Linked DNA regions of Homo sapiens: region 2 is linked to region 1. The links are contacts of gene promoters, found by promoter capture Hi-C in human tissues and cell types (Jung and others, 2019). All regions are on one chromosome and are shown on one strand. The core of a region is centred on a gene start or on the middle of the fragment in contact, and the rest is flanking DNA. Distances in the headings are between cores, read along the strand shown. Region 1 holds the start of HLF (HLF transcription factor, PAR bZIP family member). Region 2 overlaps PCTP (phosphatidylcholine transfer protein).

Region 1 (5,844 bases), core at 2,041-4,540:
CATTAAAGTGGGAGAGCCTCTGCCAGGAGTGGAGCAGAAGAAGGTACCTCTCTTAGGATCTTTGCTAAAACCTGAGTGTTAAGATGTTTATGCTAACTCTACCTTGCCTGTCCCATTCACCCTCCTCCTCCCTTTCTGAAGGGAGAATCTTCAGGGCACTTACCTGGTCTGATGGGGCTCTGCATACAGTTCGGAGATGGGATGCCAGGGTGAAGGGGTGCAGAGGCCCGGCTGCTGAGGTCCATGACCGAGGGGGCAGCCGAGGAAGCTGGCTGCAGCCCAGGAGGGTGAGGGCTGTGGTCATGCTGAGATGGGCTGGGGGGAATGCCATTTTCTGACAAAAACTCCTCCAGGTCCATGTATTCCAACTGGAAAGTATCTCCGTCATAGGGAAGGGTTTTGTCCCATAAGGTAGGCCCCAGGAATGCCGACTGGGGGACCGTCGGGCTGTTACTCTCATCATCCAGCTTCTTTTCCTTGTCTTTATCTTTACTAAATGCTGCAGAAGAAGGGAAAGCTGGACTTAAAAAAAAAGAAAGAAAAGAAAAACAATACCGCTCTTTTATCACTTTTCCTGGCCTGTTATAAGACTATTTCTCACGAATGGCAGGGTCCTTCTCTGGCTGCTGTCTTTTGTAGATCTAGAGTTAAAAGTTCAGGCAGGACGTGGATCTCTGCCTGTTTTTCAACATCTTCCTATTTACTTTGGAAAGAAGGCACTAGTCCTTGGGGCAGGGCTACAGGCTGATCTAGGATAAAAACCAGAGAACAGTCTCAGCACATTATTTGAGAAGAGTAATAACTTAAACCTAAAATAGGAATATAACATCTGTGATTATATACAACTGCTGTCATTTTTAAGAAAACAACAGCCAATAACCAGGCTTGAATTATCTTCCAGGAATTCATCACAGCAGCAATAGGAGGTCATTCAGACTTACAAAGCCAGTGAGTTAGTGGTCTTAATTTTGGTAAAGCAGGGACCTTCCACCCTTCTTTAACATCATGTTTAGAGTACCTACTGGATACCTGGTTCTTTCCATATATTATCTCAAAAATCTCACAATAAACTTGCAAAATAACAATTACCTCCATTTACAACAAAGACTCGGAGGCTCTGAGACTTGAGGGAACTTGACCAATGCCTCATGTTGGCAGAGAATGAGAACTTTCTGAGCTCACATGTGTTTGCTTCTAAAGCCACTGGGGCACACTGATTTTTACAAAAGGAGTTTAAAAAAATACAAAGTGTTTTCTTCCTTCTCTTCTCCAAACATTTGAGTATGATCCAATTTACAAAGAGTATGCATTTACAAAACCTTTCAAAAGCAGAGCTATTGGAAAAGGTGAGTTATTCTATACATTTATGTTGGAAGTATGCAGCTATTTGCTACCTGGAAGTACTGCTCGCCCATTAGGTCTTTAACAAGCATTCCGGATCTTGCCAATTCTAGTATTCAGTCGTGGGTGGAATCTGGGATTAAGGAATTTGCTTCTGAGTTTCATCTTCAGAGAAACACAGCCTCCACTGCCATCCATTCTAACCCTCTACCATCTCATCTGAAAATCTGACTTAAAACACCCACAGATGCAAAAGCCTGCAGGCAGCCCCTTCCTCCCAAATGCTCTTCCTTAAAGGATAGTTAGGGAGGGGTCCCTGGCTATCATCTGCAGATTGCAAACTCTTGCAATGCAACAGGTTGTCCTCTCCTAGAAAAGAAGGTGCAAGTACTCCCAAGCTATTTGTAGCCAAATAACCTTTCAGAACTTTACACTGTGAGCCGCACGGTTCGCATTTGCTACTGTGATACCGAAGGCATGAAATCGCATCAACCCAAATCCGTGGCATCACTTAGCCGGGTTTGGGGCCTCATCACACGTACCCCTCCTCTACTGCTAAGGCCAAGGTTGTCTTGGGAAGGTTTGGGACTTACCAAGAAAGGGCTCAAGCCAGAGGAGGCTCCTGCGCGGTTACACGTGAGCCTGCTCCGCTCTCCCCTCCCACCAGAAAAAGTGCACCGGGAAAGTGTCAACGCTGGAGGCGTGCACGGCTTCCCGCCGAGAGACCACTCCCCCCACCGGCCCCAGCCCCCACCCCGCTTTCTCAGCTACCCTTCACCAGAAGAAAACGAGTCTTCTCTCACACCTCGTGAGTTCCAAATACTAACCAGTAACAGAAGCTGTAACACAACCCCAAAACCCAGGCTACGCAGTGAAACCCCCTCCCTCAAGCCGACCCCCGCCCCCTGCCCCGCACAGAACCAGGCCCCAGGGTTTCTCCTCCCCAGCCCGGGAGGCTCTGCCCTCCGCAGGCGGGCTCGCTCTGCGTGCGGGTGTGCCTCGTTCTAGGGAACGATCCTGACCTGTCAAGTTACACCTCCCACCCGCGCCGCAGGAGCGGGACCCAGGGAGGCCGGGTGCCCGAAGCTCTTTTAAATGTAGCTCAGGAGGGGTCCCTCCCCTTTCATGGAGGAGGAGGAAGGGGAGGAAGGGTGCTGGGTGAGCTCCTCAATTTCATCAGCGCGGGGCCGGGGCGCCGCGGGACAGGGCGGGAGCGGGGTTGGGGGATGCTCCAGCGGGCGTGCCCGGCCGCGGAGGGGGACCCCCGGAGCGTCGTCCCTTCCCGGAGCGGGGCCGCGGCAGCGCTCACCGTCTTCGTGGTGAAGGGGGAGCTTCAGCGGGTTCTCCAGCAGGGACCTGAGCACGCCGTAGGGAGGCGGGATAAAGGTGGGATTCAGGGGGAGCGGTCGGGACATTTTCTCCATCGCGATGCACTCAAATTTTTTCCCCTTAAAAAAAGAAATAAGAAAGAAACAACCGCCCCCTAAAATGTTGCTGAGCTTTTCCTCCGTCCTTTGCCAAAAGTACTCGCTCTCAAGGCGGTGGAGAAAAGGGAAGAAAAAAATTACTTATATCTTTATAAATACATCTGCATAAAAATATATATTAAAAAAAAACTTTCGGGTTTCCAGTGCAGACGGTCCCAGGAGAGCGCGCCAAGTGCCCGCGGGCTCCCCGGCGACGTGCAGGATGCTCTCACCTGCCTCGAACCCCTCGTTTTGCAAAATGTTCAAAATTGAAAAAAAGAAAGAAAAAAAAATGTCGACGGCTGCAGAAGGGCAGAAGACACCGCGCCGACCCCAGCCCCTAGTGCCAGCACCGGAGGCGGTGCGCCGTCCCACCCCACCCCCCTCCCCGCGCCGGCGGCCGCTGCTCCCCAGCGCTCCGCGGCCCCGCAGCGCCGGGCTCAGCGCATCCGGCCGCCCATGTGCCGCGGCCCTGACAAGAGTGACGTCAGGGCCCGCACCTCGCGCCCATAGGCGTGCGGGGGCGGGGCCACGCGCGGCACCGCCCGCCTGGCCCGCTCGCCCCGCCGCCGCGTGTTTAGCGTCGCCGCTCGCGCCGATTTTCGGGGACCTTGCAGCACTGGCTGGTTGCAGGGGAGCAGGTGCCAGATTCCCTGGGCCATCAACTTAGGCTTAGATTTTTTTTTTTTTTTTTGGTCTGGGTGGGAAGAGGAATGAGAAATTTATATCCATAGTTTTCAAGCTGGGAATAACCTGAGGAGTTTTAAAAAAATCGCGATACCCAGGCCGCATCCCAGATCAATTAGATCAGAACCTCTGCGGTGCTATCAGGGCGTCCATAATTTTTAAAGCTCCCCAGGTGGTTCCAAAGAGTAGCCAAGTTTGAGATGATTGGTTTAGATCGGATGGAAGGTAACGACCCTTCTCAATATTTCTCCTGGCCCCGGCCAAGCTTAGCGTCTTCTTTCTTGCCCAGTTTCCACCACCACCAAAAAATAACTACTTCCTATAAGTCCGAATGGGATGCAAAAAGCAGAGCGGGAAGCGGAGGACTGAGCTGCTGGGCACTGTTTCCCACGCTGCAGAGAGGTGTTAACGGTGGGGGGAGAGGGGGGGTAGACATTTGCCTGAAACGGAAAGAGGCGGGAGAGACACAGACACACTGAACGGGATTTTAGGAATATTTACTCTGGGTGAATACAGGTGATTGCGCTTGGGTCAAGTTATTAGGTTTGCACGGTGATTAAAATAATTTTGTAAAGTATCCCCTAAGGGGGCTTCGGCTTTCCTTGCTGTTACAGCAGCTGCAGCGTCTCCCTCTGCCAGTTTGACCTCGTGGCACCCACGGTCCCCGAGATCTGCGTGCGACCCCCTGTGTGATAACTCCCTTCCCGCCTGGGGTGGTGCGGGCGCTGGCGTGCAGCCGCGACGCCCCCTGCAGAGCTCCGCGGGGGGCCAGGCAGGTTCTTCCCCTCCCTCCTTACCTCTCCTTACTAAGACCCTAGTCTTCGATCTGGGGAAGGGGCTGCAAGAACGAATGGGCACAAATGAAAGAAAACCGTTTTTCAGTGGGACGTAAAGGCCTTTGTGACCCCAGGCTGAGTCGCTGGGGAAGGATGTGGTGGTGTCTTGATGGGGTTTACTTCCCCAGGAGAGGGTTGTAAGAGAGGAGGCGCCTGAAACCCCAGAGATCAGGAGCGGCGGCGCAGCGGGGTTCAGAGTTCCCTGGCAGGGTGATTCCGGCAAGTGCCTTTCTGCCCTGAGCTGTAGGTTCTTCATAAAAGGACACGTAATCTAGTGACCTCTACTTCCTCACTCTAAAATTATGGCAAAAGGGTAAGGCAACATTCTAAGTGAGATGTTGTTGCAGTGTTTCAGGTTTCAGACGAATTCCAGAAACAGCAAACTTTTAGTTAATGCCACATGCATTTATTGAGCACCACGGTATGTATGCCAGCGACTATGCGGGGGCTAGTGAAAAAAGATGAATAAAACATAATTTTAACCTTCAAGAACTCATCGTTTAGGGTTTGGCATATAAGCAAATAATATAAAATAGGCTTAAAAGAACAAAAATGGATAGATGGAGGTGACAGGGGCACTTACATTATTAGGAAAGGGATTCTAGAGAAGGTGCCTGAGCTGGGCGTGGAGGTAATAGTCTCTCGTGAACGGTCTGAATCCATCAATTATATTATATTGTTTTTTTAAAAAATAAAAAAGGGACCTCATCTCCGCTATCCTTTTGGAGACAGAGGCTATTTCCCTGTCTTGAGTTCCTTACATCCCTGTAAGTCCATAAACTGGCAGGACTGAGAGCATCCTCTCAGCCTGGTTAGAAATCTGTTAGATTGCAGATTCCAGGTGCATGAAAGATGCGTTACCTAAGCTTTGTGTAACAGTCCACTGACATTACTCAGCACGCCCAAAGTGCTCCACCTGCTCATGATTCTCCGCATGTCCTCACTTCCCCATGTTTCCAGACATGAAACTCTTACCAGGTCAAGTAATCTGGTTTCCCAGGGTAATCTTCTCCTTACCACCTGACAGAACCAAATACTGTGGCTTGGAAATTGCATTTCTCATTGCAAGTGGATAAACTGGCGTTCTGGTTGATCAAGCAGTTTCTTGGGAATTTGGTTCATTTAATTTAATTTCCCTGAGCCTGATCAACATGTCACGGACCAGATTGAGGACCAGCCCCTTAGACCATGGTGACTCCCTCTCACTTCTCTCCATCCTTCTCTAACTTCAAAGGTATTTCTTAGAGCCTCAAAAATTATAAGCATTGGCTAATCTTCAATCTAGCCCCATTCCTTAACAAGATAAATGAAATTGGTACATCTTTTCTACTCTGGCCATTTGTAAATGTTATTTTCTTTTATTTTTTTAACAAACCATGAACATCTTTCTTTCTCTTTCTCTCTCTCTCTTCCCCAGAAGCAGTTGTGGATGGCTGCTCAAGAGGAAGGAGAGGGATAGAAGAAACCAAAGGTTATATTGGTTGGGTAGTAAGACCCTCTGAATTCCACAGGTT
Region 2 (5,844 bases), core at 2,256-4,755, 500 kb before region 1:
TGAGTTTGGTATGAGTATCCCCATACTACAGATGACAAAAGTGAGGCTCAGAGAGGAAAAGAACCTTGCCAAAAATCCCACATCCCAGCTGAAGTGATGAAACATGAATTTTTATCCCAGATCTGGCTCCAAAACCTACTTAGAATTTCATAGTTGGATGGAGCTCAGATATTTAGTTTGTTAGTTACACTTTCATAAAACAGAATTTTGGGTTTCCCACTCAAAGGAATCAAAAACCTAAAATAATCAAAAAGTCACTACGCACAACACAATTACACTTACTATAACATGGCAGCCGTCTCAGCCTCCACCCACCTCAGTGTCTTTTTTTTTTTTTTTTTTGAGACAGAGTCTCACCCAGACTGGAGTAGAGTGTCACGATCTCGGCTCACTGCAACCTCCACCTCCTGGGTTCAAGTGATCCTCCCACCTCAGCCTCCGGAGTAGCTGGGATTGCAGGCGCCCACCACACCCAGCTAAATTTTTTTGTATTTTTAATAGAGACAGGGTTTCTCCATGTTGGCCAGGCTGATCTCGAACTCTGACATCAAGTGATCTGCCCACTTTGGACTCCCAAAGTGTTGGGATTACAGGCGTGAGCCACCCGCGTTCAGTCCCACCTCAGTGTCTTGACAGCGCCCCCTGTTGCCCCACCCTCACATTGGACAGTCTATTGCTCCATGCTCTTATACACTAATAAGTAAAGTTCTTAAATGTTTCAGGAAAGAGATGTTGATTTGTCACTGGGTTCCTTTCTCCTACACCTTTTACTTTTTCCTTTTAGCAAATATTGTTCCACTCTCTCCCCCAACTTTCTCAGCTCATGTGATAGATATCATCTGATACTCCACGGAGGAAGAATTATCTTGATATAGTGATTAAAATTTGGCAGAACACCTTTGAAGTGTTGGCAGTTCATCTAATTCAGTGGCTTCCAAACTTTTTTTTGACTCCAAGAGACCCTTTGCTAAAAGGATCTTACATGGAAATTGAACCTGTAAAACACTCCGCTGCTGGGATTGAAGAGCATGGTGAAGGAGTCAAAATCTTACCTAGGAGTCATCCTACTTCCATCCTACCCACCCCCAAAATTCCATCCTAGCCCCCCAGCTTAGTCCTAAGGGGGCTTCTGAAGACCTTACAGTGCCAGCCAAGCCTCCCTACATTTCATTCAACTGCTTCATTTCATAAACAAGGACATTGAGGGGAAGAAGCTTACAGTCAGTGTCCAGAGCCAACAATCAAGGAGGGATTTCTGTGGGGTCTACTGAGATGGGGGAGGCGGAGAGAGCTGGAAATGCAGAGGCCTGAGTTCCAGCACCTGCTCTGCCACTAACCACCTATGTGCCTCTGTCCTATCACCTCTTTGGGAGCCCTTTTTCCTTCTGTAGACTGAGGGAGCTGTAACAAGCACTTTTTATAAGAAGTTCCTTCCAGATCCCCAATTCTGTGGCCTGACAATTTCAAGGCCTAGGAAACTTCTTAGGAAAGTAAGAGCTGCTCTCCAGTGACCAAAATTACAGACACTTCATGTGGTTGGGCCCAGAAATCACACTCTGAGCTCTCCAAACACCATACAAGAAGCAATATCTTTAGCAAATGCTGCTGCAAGAATCAGAGACAATGTTATCTGTGCCTGCTGAGAAACCAGCTCTACCTCTCTGCAATAGACTGCAGCTGAGGAACACAGAAACACTTAGAGGGCCAGGGAATGAGTACCTTGTGGAAAGGATACGTCTCTGTTGGACATGGGAAAAGGGTACTTCACTTCCCAGTAGACCACAGTCTCTCCGTTGCATTCTTGTTCATAGAGTTCTAAAGGAAAGCAAAAGAAGTTAATGCATCTGGAAGCCTTTTTAGCTACAACTAATAAGGGTATGACCTCTTAGGCCAAGCATGGTGGCTCATGCCTGTAATCCCAGCACTTTTTGAGGCCAAGGTGAGTCAATTGCTCAAGTCCAGGAGTTCAAGACCAGCCTGGGAAATATGGTGAAACCCCATCTCTATATATAAAAAAAAAAAAAAGCAAAAAAATCAGCCAGGTATGGTGGTGCATGTCTGTAGTCCCAGCTACTCTGGAGGCTGAGGTAGGAGGATCATCCAAGCCTAGCAGGTCAAGGCTGCAGTGAGCCAAGCCATGATTGCACCACTGCACTCCAGCCTGGGTGACAGAATGACACCATGTCTCAAGAAAAAAAAAAAAAAAGATGACCTCTTAGGTTATGATAAACCACTAACTCATAAGGTATAAAATTCTAGAAAAAAGTCAAACCGATTAATTTCCACTGAAAGCTTATTGCCCAGGGACAGAGTCTAGTGGATAGAAAAACACAGCACAAATAAAAGAAGCCAACAAATCTTGGCCATTCTATAGCATAATCAATATTCTTGATAGAATGCAATGAAACAAAATCAGACATCAAAAAAATAGTCAGAGGTTTTAAATTCAGGATAACCACCAGATGTCACTAGAGTACCAATAGTTTTGCTTCTGAGCCCTTTAATTCCCCTTTAGGATTCCTTGATCCATTACAGCTAACCTGGAACGGAGTCACCCAGTCTAGCACATTCATAGGTCGGATATGAAGGTTCCAGAATGAGCAACGTCCTTCTTGAATAGTTAGAGATCAGCAGAACTATGGCTTACCCCAAGTTTCTTTCTTCTCTCCCATGTTTCTTTGCACTATGCCACAGCTAGGGTGACCAAATTTCCCTAATAATCCTTCCGTCTTACTATTATGTGCAAACAGCAGCCAACTCTTGGAGGGAGATAGCAAAGAAATTTAATGGCATGCACACCCTCTGTCCCCAGACTGTGCTGTGCAGTAAACTTCTTTCTACCTCCAGTTAAAGGAGCCCAAAGTCCCTGGAGGAGATGGTAAGGAGGGATAATTTAGGTTTTGAAAGAAAATCTATTAGAAGCACACTGTAGATTAAGGAGTGTGCCAGCCCATTAAGGTCACAGGAGGCTGATGAGAGTCCTTAAAAGAAAGGGAGAGGTGGACATCTGTTGCTTTTACATGCTCAGCATTGATCGCCCCTTGAGCATCTCAATTTTCCTTCAGGGCATCACCCTTCCCCTACTTCTCAGCTGCATGGTTTCGCAAGACTGACTCTGCAGTAATTTCAGGGCTGGGAAAATGAGCAAGACACGGCCATGGTGACGAATTCAGGGATGGCAGATCTGTCCAGAGTCGTAGTTAGTCACTCTAGCAAGTTGAGAGCAAAAAGTGATTTAGTAAAGCTCTCGGATGGACCAGAGTGAGATTTCCAACCTCAAGATTGTTCCAGCAAAGCCTAACTGCTGCTTCCACTGGATGAGAACCCAGAGTGAAAGCTGTTGATGTTGGGGAGCAAACATCAGAGACTCAGCAGTTGTTTTCCCTAAAGTCAGATGCCATCACTGGTCACTGAAAAATGGATCTTCCATGCTGCCTGCTTCCTCACATGGCTCTTTTCCAAATTGAAGCCACATGTGGGTCTTATTGGCAGAGTCTATGTCACATGACTGTATCTTGGCTGCAAGGGAGGCCTGGACAGACAGTGTCTGGCTGTTCCCTTGGATAGGTAAGCATCCCACTGCCCCCTAAATAGGAAGAGTATTTGAGAACACTAAGTTGCCCAAAACCATGATGAATGTCCACAGAAAATAAGCACAAACTCCAAGCTGAGCTGACAAGAGCCAATCCTGGCATCTGGCTGTCATCCCTAGAAAAGTAGAATTCTCCTTCCTCTGGGGTTATTCATATGGTTAGAATATAAATCTGGATCTTCTGGCAGACATCTTGGCCATGACATAAGAATCTGCCTAGGAATTAGGTCAACACAGAAGAAAACAGAGTCTACAGATGGAGAAAGAAACAATCCTGATGAAATTATTTAAGTTCCCTGTTGCAGCTGTCCTCAAAGTTAGAAACCCCTGGACTTTTTTCAATGCCATGAACTAATAAACTCCTTTTTCTCTTCTTACACTGTCTTTAGTTGGCTTTCTGTTACTTGCAACCAAGAGTCTTGACTAAAGGCTTTATGTGCCTTTGGCTAGTTTCATAGTTCCATTCCACTATGACTGGGTTGGCAGAGGCTACTCCAGCTCTAAGTGGCAGGAGAAGTCCCTGTGTGATGTCTTTCATAACACATAACTTACAGGGAAAAATCTAAGACCGATAGCCTGGTCGCCATGCTAGGCCCTGGAGGATCTGGACCCAACAGCTGCCCTAGTTCGCCTAGTAGTAGAAGAACCTACCCTAGCTCTTCGACTACTACTAGTACTAGTTCTATTAGCTAGTTCTACTAGTACTAGCAGTACTAACAATAGTAGTAGTAGAACTAGTACTAACAGTAGTCGAAGACCTAGGATAGGTTCTCTTACTCCAACCAACCCAACAACACCAAACTGCTGGCGGCTATTGAACATATTGCTTCACGCTTTCCTGACCTTACTAATGCTGATCCCTGAGCCTAGAATGCTCTTAACCAGTCATCCTGTCCCTCTCTTACCTCCTCACATACATGTATTCTTCTCTGTTTGGAAAATTTTGATTCAACTCTCAAACCAAAACTTGGACCGCACCTCCTCCCCTTTCATGACAACCTAGATACATGGGAGGATCACACAACTTAAAAGTGGCAGCAAAGGAGCCCCAAGAGCAAACTGTGGAGAGGATCTAAAACTAGGTAAGGAGCAAGTCCTAGCAATAGCAAAAGTGCATTTCAGTCCAACATTTAAAATGCTTTTGTGCCAAAATTTAATAGGAAGCACTATGTAGTAGAAGTTAATTTTATTTTTTTCTACTGGCAAGAATAAATAAAAATAGATTAGACTTTTTTTTTTTTTTGAGACAGGGTCTCCCTCTGTTGTCCCTGCTGAAGTACAGTCTTGGCTCACTGCAACCTCTGCTTCTTGGGTTCAAGCAATTCTTAGTGCCTCAGCCTCCTAAGTAGTTGGGACTATAGGCATGCGCCACCATGCCCAGCTAAGTTTTGTATTTTTAGTAGAGACGGGATTTCACCATGTTGGCCAGGCTGGTCTCAAACTCCTGGCCTCAAGTGATCTGTCCGCCTCAGCCTCCCCACGTGCTGGGATTACAGGCGTGAGTCACTGCATCTGGTCAGAATAGATCTACTTTTTAATGATCAAAAAAAAAAAAAAAAAAAAGCACTGGGTGCAGCGGCTCATGCCTGTAATCCTAGCACTTTGGGAGGCCAAGGCAAGCGGATCACCTGAGGTCAGAAGTTCAAGACCAGCCTGACTAACATGGAGAAACCCTGTCTCTACTAAAGATACAAAAATTAGCCAGGTGTGGTGGCGGGCGCCTGTAGTCCCAGCTACTCAGGAGGCTGAGGCAGGAGAATCGCTTGAACCCAGGAGGCGGAGATTGCGGTGAGCTGAGATCCTACCTTTGCACTTCACCCTGGGCTACAAAAGTGAAAGTACGTCTAAAAAAAAAAGAAAAGCAAGCATCACTCACCTTTAACATACTGGTCCCATTGTTTTCTGTAATCTGAGTCCATATAGATGTCTGCCAGTAGAGTTGGTGAGCAGTCCTCCAGAACACCAAAGACTTTATACTCATAAAGTCCAGTCTTCTATAAAAACAGAACAGGTAGAAATGTCTATTGGTTCCCAAGTTGAGAGAAAGCTGCATTCCACATAATTAAACTAAAGAGCTTCTGCACAGCAAAAGAAACTACCATCAGAGTGAACAGGCAACCTACAAAATGGGAGAAAATTTTCACAACCTACTCATCTGACAAAGGGCTAATATCCAGAATCTACAATGAACTCCAACAAATTTACAAGAAAAAAACAAACAACCCCATCAAAAAGTGGGTGAAGGACAAGAA

Evidence for each region. Contacts are between HindIII fragments. The study calls those that stand out against the background at their distance.
Region 2: a fragment that was not itself captured here is called in contact with the fragment with the promoter of HLF in region 1 in 1 of the 25 tissues and cell types used here (dorsolateral prefrontal cortex).

What each region holds. Positions count from the first base shown.
Region 1 is chr17:55,262,406-55,268,249 of GRCh38, reverse strand. It overlaps HLF (HLF transcription factor, PAR bZIP family member), which reads right to left and starts at 3,290. Exons shown (of 4, transcript NM_002126.5): 1 at 2,651-3,290; 2 at 164-499. The coding sequence starts at 2,765. RefSeq lists a silencer at 3,167-3,486. The HindIII fragment of the contact is 14,198 bases long and covers 1-4,478 here.
Region 2 is chr17:55,767,077-55,772,920 of GRCh38, reverse strand. It overlaps PCTP (phosphatidylcholine transfer protein), which reads right to left. Exons shown (of 6, transcript NM_021213.4): 2 at 5,469-5,586; 3 at 1,736-1,815. Among named protein-coding and RNA genes, the nearest start is that of PCTP, 19 kb to the right of the region's middle. The HindIII fragment of the contact is 3,503 bases long and covers 1,754-5,256 here.